Linked DNA regions of Homo sapiens: all the other regions are linked to region 2. The links are contacts of gene promoters, found by promoter capture Hi-C in blood cells and fetal thymus (Javierre and others, 2016). All regions are on one chromosome and are shown on one strand. The core of a region is centred on a gene start or on the middle of the fragment in contact, and the rest is flanking DNA. Distances in the headings are between cores, read along the strand shown.

What was found. Contacts are between HindIII fragments. The CHiCAGO score rates a contact against its expected background, and 5 or more counts as called.
Region 1: a fragment that was not itself captured here is called in contact with the fragment with the promoter of MYO5B in region 2 in 1 of 17 cell types (endothelial precursors); the score reaches 5.3 in endothelial precursors.
Region 3: a fragment that was not itself captured here is called in contact with the fragment with the promoter of MYO5B in region 2 in 1 of 17 cell types (naive CD4 T cells); the score reaches 5.6 in naive CD4 T cells.

What each region holds. Positions count from the first base shown.
Region 1 is chr18:50,022,891-50,025,590 of GRCh38, reverse strand. All of the region lies in intron 4 of MYO5B (myosin VB), which reads left to right. Among named protein-coding and RNA genes, the nearest start is that of MIR4320, 100 kb to the left of the region's middle. The HindIII fragment of the contact is 1,538 bases long and covers 602-2,139 here.
Region 2 is chr18:50,193,715-50,196,414 of GRCh38, reverse strand. MYO5B (myosin VB) reads left to right here and starts at 1,268. Exons shown (of 40, transcript NM_001080467.3): 1 at 1,268-1,648. The coding sequence starts at 1,622. RefSeq lists silencers at 1,054-1,293, 1,354-1,593. The HindIII fragment of the contact is 3,223 bases long and covers 130-2,700 here.
Region 3 is chr18:49,945,384-49,948,083 of GRCh38, reverse strand. The region is part of intron 14 of MYO5B (myosin VB); the gene reads left to right. It also overlaps the pseudogene RNA5SP457. Among named protein-coding and RNA genes, the nearest start is that of SNHG22, 130 kb to the right of the region's middle. The HindIII fragment of the contact is 3,763 bases long and covers 1-2,700 here.

The DNA.
Region 1 (2,700 bases), core at 121-2,620, 170 kb after region 2:
TACTGTTACAGGACCAACAGGTTCATATGCCCACTGCACAGTAACAGACCAGTTACACTGAGACAGCAGGGTTTTCAGCAGAGAAAGAGTTTAATGATCACAGGGCACCAAGAGAGGAGATGGGAGGAGATCCTTAAATCCACCTCCTTGAGGAGTTCCGGGCTGGAGTTTTTAAGGGGATCACAGAGGGCAAGGGGCTAGACAACTGGGGTTGTGAACTGGTTGGAGGAAGGGTGATGAAATCATCGGGATGTGGAAACTGCGTTCTTTGAGTTAGTTTCTCCTGAGGTCCTTCAGACCAGCTATGTTAGTATCACTGATATGCAGGTCTTGACCTGTAGATGGTACTTAAAGCCTTGGGAATGGATGATGTCAATCAAGGAGAGATTGTTAGGGAAGTGAGAACTTCCCAGATCTCTGAAAGAAAATCTTAAATGGAAAATGTTTTTTAATATTCAAGTTGTTATCTATAGAGCAGTGAACGGGAGCTATAGTCTTGTAACAGGGTCTCTGTAATTCTAGGACAGTAGGCACCACATAACTATGAGGAAGAGAGTCAGAAAGCAAGCCGACCTCATGAACACTGAATGTGCTGCAAGCTTGGTTTATTTTCATTTTCCCACTCCCTTCTTCCCTGATTAATTTTATACAGTTCGTAAGGACAGTTTTAGTATGATAATGAACAGTGTTTTGACTTAAAGGAACTCCCCAAAGCTCTTAATTTTAACTATCTCCATGATTTTAAGTCCCAGTGTATGGCTAGTCTACCTGGTCTTTGTCCACAGCAGATACTCGGGAAGTCAGGGAACCTCTCTGGTTGAGGAATACTGCAGAAAGGTCTGCAGGCAGTGCAGCATGGCCAGGAGAAAGCCCCATGTCTATGTCCTTTAGAACCACAGTGGACAGGCTTAAAAGCAAATGCCTTTGAACCTTCCTGGCTCCTGCCCCTATTACAGATCGATAATGTTGGAAGCCAGAGGGAGGAGTGTACTTACAGCCAAAAGATGACGGAAATTAATTTGGTCCTCTGTATTCCCAGAACTAGAGAATAAAATGATTCATGATTGATGACTTGCTTTTAAAAAGATGTCCTTTTTGGTTAAAAAGGGCATTAAACCTTCTCTACAAGAGCAAGTACCAAGAATACTTAGAATTATGGGATGTCTTTTGAGAAAATGTCTTGCACCTGGTAGCAGAGAGAAGGAGAGAGGTGGAATCCCAGCACCCAGGACTTCTCTGCTTAGTCACCCTTCCTAGCTAAGAATGACTGCACCCCTGACCTTGTGTTCCTGAGAATGTTAATATAAGTGTTTGAACTATTTAGAGTCTCTCTAGCCACATTTAGTTTAAATGTATGGTATTGATCTTCAGTTATGATACTGGGGATTAATATATGCTCACTCGGGTTTTTTCTGCTTCCGCACTGGGTCATTGGGCTCCTAGAGTTTTATTCCATTTGTCATTGCACATATTAATCCATCATAATTACCTGATGTGTACGAACTCCAGCTCAGCAATCTAAAGCAGAGATTTTTCTTCCTGCCTGTATGGGGTTGTCACTTCTACAATTTTGTCCATTTTACTTCCTTATATTTATAGAGCCCCTTATATTTTATTTTATGGAGTATGTGTTGAGGTAGTGCATAGAGTGAAGATTTTTTTTCTTTCTGAAGTTGGAAGGCTCTTCAGGTCAAACAGCATAGGACAGGGTTTCATCTTTCAGCATCTTCAACGCATGATACCCGGTCTAGGCTGGAAACTTCTAGTGTCTCCGGGAGGCAGCCATTCCACTTTTGAAAGCTCTTAGAGGTGAAGAGATACCAGCCGCCCTGCTACCTACCACAGCCCCAGGGCCTGCCTCTTTTCTGGAGCAGCTGCTAGAACAGACTATTCTGGGAATGGTCTTTTAGTCTTTTTTCTCTAAGCTAAACTCTTCCTCATCTCATTAGCATTCTTCATGTGATAGTTTACTATTCTGATTGACTTTCTCAGAATATATTTCAATTTTTCTAAGTATCTCACAAAATGTGGCTTCCGTAATTGAGCCAGGATTCTAACTCAACTGGCCAGAGAAGAGGATCATGGCCCTCTCCCATTCTCCTGGTATCTAGATACTCTGGAGCCGCATTAATAGAAGCTTACTAATAGCTTCATACTATGATGGTTGATAATAACCAAAATAGTCCAGTGCTTTCCGTCTGAACTGTGGTCACGCCGCAGCTTGGTTTGGCATAATACCCTTGTGAGGTGTGTTGTGGGCCCACTGCAGTTCAAAAACTTGTCTAGGTCATGTAGGCTAAGTGGCAGTGTCCATTTAGAATCCAGGTGCTCCCATTCTCTAGAGCTCTTTCCTCTAGAACTGAGGTGGGCTGATGACGCAATGTTCTTAGAACTAATGAAAGATGTCTTTACTGTCATGGTAGTAAATCACTAAAGTGACTTTTTTTTTTTTTTGTAAGACATTGTAGGATTTCTCACATAGGAAATCTGTAAGAAGAATAGATGGTTTATTCTTAAAGAAGATGCCTAGAAGACCCTTTGTAACTTTGACAAAGCAGCAAATTCCACCTCCCATCCTGCCCCTAGTCCCATCTATGGGTTTGTCAGTTGCCTCCTCCAACAATGCTGGTCTGCTGTTATCTTAAACAGCAGCACACCAAAGCTGAACTTAGCTTCCCACTTTAGGCTGGGCTTCTTCCT
Region 2 (2,700 bases), core at 19-2,518:
AAGAGCTACAGGAATCCGGGGAAGGGAAATATGCAGAAAAACTTTTGAGGAAGAGAAAAAAATCCCTTTCTGCTCTTGCCACTGATGTGAAGAGTTCCATTTTTAGGTCCAATGAGAGCCGCCCAAGCTTTGGTCAATGCATTTGTCACCCTGGAAGTACCATCCTTTAGACTTTCAGAGGAGCTTTAAAAATTGGGATACCCAGGTCCCATCCTTCATTATATCAGAATTCCTTGGGTTGGGGCCTCTTCCTTGGAACGCTTAAAGCTCCCCATGTGACTCTCATTGTGGAGGTGCCCATGGGAAGGCCTGCACAGGTGAATTACAACGGGATCTTGAGTTCCAGGTGGGATGCCTCTGAGAATCACCTTCTGGGGCTCTTGAACAACTGCCCCGGCTGGTACAGATATATCTTCCGGTTGAGAACCACTTTTCAGGGGCCACCCCTGGGTCAGGGACAGATGTCAGCTTCAGAAGGGAGTGTCTCCTCTGACAGCCCCTCGTCTCCCTCCACAGACTTCTGGCAGTTTTTTTTTTTTTTTCTTGGTTGAAATTTCTACTTTTCACTGGAAGTAGGAGAGGAGCTGAAGTTGCTGCAGGCAGCCAAGTGCCATGGTCAGAGAGGGAACACAAATAAACGAGGTAGTGAGTGGCAAAAGGACCCGGAGTCTGCATGTAGACGAGACGGGGGTTGGGAGAACGTGAGACTTCCCGGAAAAGCAGAAGCCCTCTGAGATGAGTGGCCTGGAGTCTCCTTGGAGGCTGTGGGCGAAAGTGGACAATATTTGTACAGAAGGAGTTACGACTCCCACTTTACTGACAAGGATTTCCGCGCAGAGAGTTCAGTTTGAAGGAGAAGATCCCTGGTGTATGTATATCCAGGTCGCCTTAATAACGATCTACGAGTAACTGAATTTTAATCATGAAAGCGCTGAATACAGCCAGGTAAAATCGAGGGCAATGTCTGGGGCCTTCCAGCCATAGACGCTTCTCTTTTTTCCCCCCTCTCTGGTTAGTTCCTCTTCCCTTTTCTTGTCTGCACCGCGTTCATGCCGGACTCCGCGGGGCCCGGTGCGGGTGGAAGCGGAGCGCGGCAGGGCAGGTGCGGGCGCCGGGGCGCACCTGTGCCTGCGCGCGCGCGGCGTCCAGCAGGGGGCGGCCCGCGCCGGTCCCGGAGCTCCTCTCTGAGCGCCCCGCCCCCGGCCCGGAGGCCCAGGTGGCAGCGGGGGCGCGGGAGGGCGCGTCGGGCCGGGCACCGGCAGGGCTCAGAGGCGCGGCGGCGCACGGGCCGTCCGCTCTGACGCGAGCGGGTCCTCCCTCCTCGCCGGCCCTCGCCTCCTCCCCACACCTGGGAGGGGAGTGGTGCGGCGCGGCCTCCTCCCCCGGCGCTCGCAACTCCTGTCCGGCCGTAGCTGCGCCGCCGCGGCGGGAGTAAAGGTCGCGCCGCCGGGAGCGAGCCGGCCGCGGCGCCTGCGGGAAGCCGGCGGGGCAGGTCGGAGAAGAGCGAGAAGATCGAGAAACTCCAGGCCAGCCCGGGAACATGGCGCCAGGCGGGCCAGCCGCGGACTGAGAGCCGCGGGGCAGCCAGGAGCCGGGGCCCGAGCCCCGCCCGGCCCGGGCCATGTCGGTGGGCGAGCTCTACAGCCAGGTGAGCGCGGCCGCGAGGGAGGCGCCCCGGGGCCGGGGTGGCGCGCTCGGGGCCACCTAGTACTCAGGGTCGCCTTCTCCCTCGGCTACTGGAGGCGGGAGGTGACGGGAGACCCCCCTCCGCGGTGTCCTCCTCGTCACTGTCCTCGGAGTCCCTAACTTCGGTTGGCGGAGAAAGTTTGGCGGTTCCGGGAACGCCCGCACTGACCGGCCACCCGGCTCCTAGAGGTTCCGCAGCGCCACGGCTCAGCACCAAGCCAGGGCTGTCGCCCCCTCCCCGCCGCGCCCCTCACTTTCGTTGCCTGGGCTCGGCTCCAACCGAGTTCCCCGAACGGCAGGGCGACCCTGCCAGCTCTGAGCGCCGTGCGCGGGACGGGCCCCCGCGGTGCTCCCGCTGCTGTCCCCTGTCCCCGCCGTGGACCCCACCCCAGGGGCTCTGCGGCGCCGGCTCTCGAGGGCGCGCCTCCGAGGCGTCCTTTCCTCCCGCATACCCACAACAGGGAACCCTGGACTTGGGAGAGGTGGGGGTTCTGGACTTGGTGGAGAGGGAGGAGACAACCTGGCGTGAGGGCGCGGCGGCTGGATGGAGTGAGGGTAAGCAATGGGTAGAGGGGTGCGCCGTTATCTCCGGAGACCCCAGGGAAGAGCATTGTGAATTTGCTGGGGATGGATGTTTTGACGCGGCCTCTTTGGTACAAAGAGGGCTTCAGTGACTGCGGGGAGGGGGTTGGAGTAAAGTCGAACCGGGAGCAGGGTGTGAGTTTCAGGATGCCTTCAAGGTCAGAAGGGATGTGTGAGGCTGGGTGCTCCGAATCGGGAACAGGTGCAGCCCGGGCGGAGACGCCCGCGTTCCGCAGCAGTTGCTGTGGTTAAAGTTAGGGACAAGCCACCGCTTCCAGGGGAGCTCGCGGCAGCGCTGCAGCCGCCCGGGACCCCTCGAGTTTCAACCTGGAGTCAGTAGTGAGAGGGGCAAAGGCCTTTTCTTCACATGTGCCCTATGCACCTTTAAGAAAACAAGTTTTGGATAGTCCAATGCCTGGTTTTCCTGTTCGT
Region 3 (2,700 bases), core at 201-2,700, 250 kb after region 2:
ATTGACTTTTTATTTTATTATTATTATACTTTAAGTTTTAGGGTACATGTGCACAACGTGCAGGTTTGTTACGTATGTAGATAGCATTAGGAGGTATACCTAATGCTAAATGACGAGTTAATGGGTGCAGCACACCAACATGGCACATGTATACATATGTATACAGATGTAACAAACCTGCACGTTGACTTTTTTTAAACTGCCAAATGGCCTTTACAAAGTTTTTTCATGCTTCTTAGTCCCTTTTTGATTTGCCCCAGGCTTTTAAAAGCTATATATAGGAATGAATAGCAGAGAATACCAAAGCCAGTCCCTATGTACAGGTTTTAAACAAGTGACAGGAAAATATTGGTTTGTCTGGAGGTGCTAGCTTGAGTGTTTGAGTTCGAAGGGGACAAATTGTGAGAAATGCCCGGGTGGCTGCCCTAAGGTAAATTGTGGCAGCTCTCTTACTGCTCAGTCAGCTTATAAACAGACTGCTTAATAACTCTAAACACATAATTGGAGTTTGTCAATTGCCCTGATCTGATTACTATACACTATATATGTCAAAACTAGGTACCCCATGTATGTACAGTTATTATGCGTCAATTAAAAAATAAAAATTTAAAAACTTCTTTTCGCTCAGAAATGTGATCCTTTGTATGGGTCCTTTGTCAAGTAAGAGCTTGGTGACTACGGCTGGGTGCGGTGGCTCACGCCTGTAATCCCAGCACTTCGGGAGGCCAAGGCAGGCGGATCACAAGGTCAGGAGATCAAGACCATCCTGGCTAACATGGCGAAACCCCATCTCTACTAAAAATACAAAAAATTAGCCAGGCGTGGTGGCGGGCGCCTGTAGTCCCAGCTACTCGGGAGGCTGAGGCAGGAGAATGGCGTGAACCCGGGAGGTGGAGTTTGCAGTGAGCTGAGATCGTGCCATTGCACTCCAGCCTGGGTGACAGAGTGAGACTCCGTCTCAAAAAAAAAAAAAAAAAAAAAAGAGCTTGGTGACTACTTTTCATTGTGACTCTGGGCTTGTGTATAGTTGGGACACTTCTCAGGTGAGGTATCCTTACGTAGCCCAATCTTCTTAAGGGATGGGTGTGGATGGAACCATAATTTGTATTTCTTGCCTGGGTCTTTTGCGGATGTCTACAGCCCAGCGTTGAACATGGTATCTCTTAGTCTTTCAGTCCTGTCATCAAACTAGATCTCTTATGTTCATTTGAGTTTATAAAACAAATTTTGAATAGAATACGAAGCATACTGGTACCTCCTTTTGAGAACTAATATTCCAACACAGTCATCTCCCTCTAAATCCCAGATCCTGCCACTGCCAAAGGCAGTCTCAACAGCAGGAACTTAAAGGAAAACCTAGCTTTTCAAATAACATACAAATTCTTCAGACTAAACCTTGATTATGTTGATTCCAGATTATAGCACAGTGCCAGCTTAGGTACAAATCTGCCTTGGACAGTTTTTACTTTCTGTTCTTAAGTTACAAAGTCCCTGTTTAATGTATAAAATTAAAAGCATAGATAGCCTTTCTAATGGAAGCAGGAGAAAGGGGCTGAAATCTTAAAATTCTCCCATTGGTGATTCTGATTTCCAAGTTCCTAGTGTGATTTTTCATACAGATCAAGCATCACAAATCTAGAATGCTCTAAAATTTGAAACTTTTTGAGCACCAATATGACACTCAAAGGAAATGCATCTACGGCCATACCACCCTGAACGTGCCTGAGCTTATCTGATCTCAGAAACTAAGCAGGGTCGGGCCTGGTTAGTGCATGGATGGGAGGAAATGCTTACTGGAGTATTTTTGCATTTTGGATTTTCAGATTAGGGATGCTCAACCAGTAAGTATAATGTAAATTCTCCAAAATCTGAAACACTTCTGGTCTCAAAATTCTCAAATTTTGAATAACGGATACTCAATCTGTACCTGTTAATGACCTTAGGGCTTAATATTTTTTTTTTTTTTACAGTAAAAGCTACTATGAATGATTTCTGTAAATTTAACCCCCTCCCCACTACCCAATAGTATAGTTATGCAGATTGGTAACTTCTACCCATGCCTCAAACATCTTGAAAATTCACTTCAGAAAGTATATGAATTAGAATTATTTAATAAGCCAGTGTTTTGCTTTGCCATGACAGACAGGCATGAATCACAATGGCATCTTCAAAATGTGAACCTGCCTCCAGCCTCCCATTATTTCCCCATGGAGCTTTCTCAGCACCAGTCTGACGGGCCACTTTGTCCTTTCTTACCTGTGTCTTGGCTCTCTGGCCCTGGTCCATGGAGCCCCCAGGCCCAGCTCTCCTCTCCTCCTCCTCCTCCTCCCCTCCTCCCCTCCACCAGCCCATTCTGCTCCTGCCACTCTCAGTGTTTAGTTCACCTGAACACTGTTCATCTATGGCTTTCTGCCATAGACAGTGAGGACAAACAAATGGGCCTTTAACATGTGGCTACTGGATAAGGTTTGCATCCAGAGAAAACTCTGGCTGTTGGTTGGAATGTGTTTGGGTGAAGGTGTGCCCGGAGGTATGCCCTCACGCTTTCGGTGACTGTAGTGATCCAGGAGAGAGCTGGGTAGTCCTGAGCTGGAGCAGCAGCTCCAGCTCCAGATTAATGAAAAAAAAAAGGACTGCATGATACTCCCCTGTGGGCAGAACTTGGTACTTGATTGAGATATAGGAAGTAGGGTGAGGACA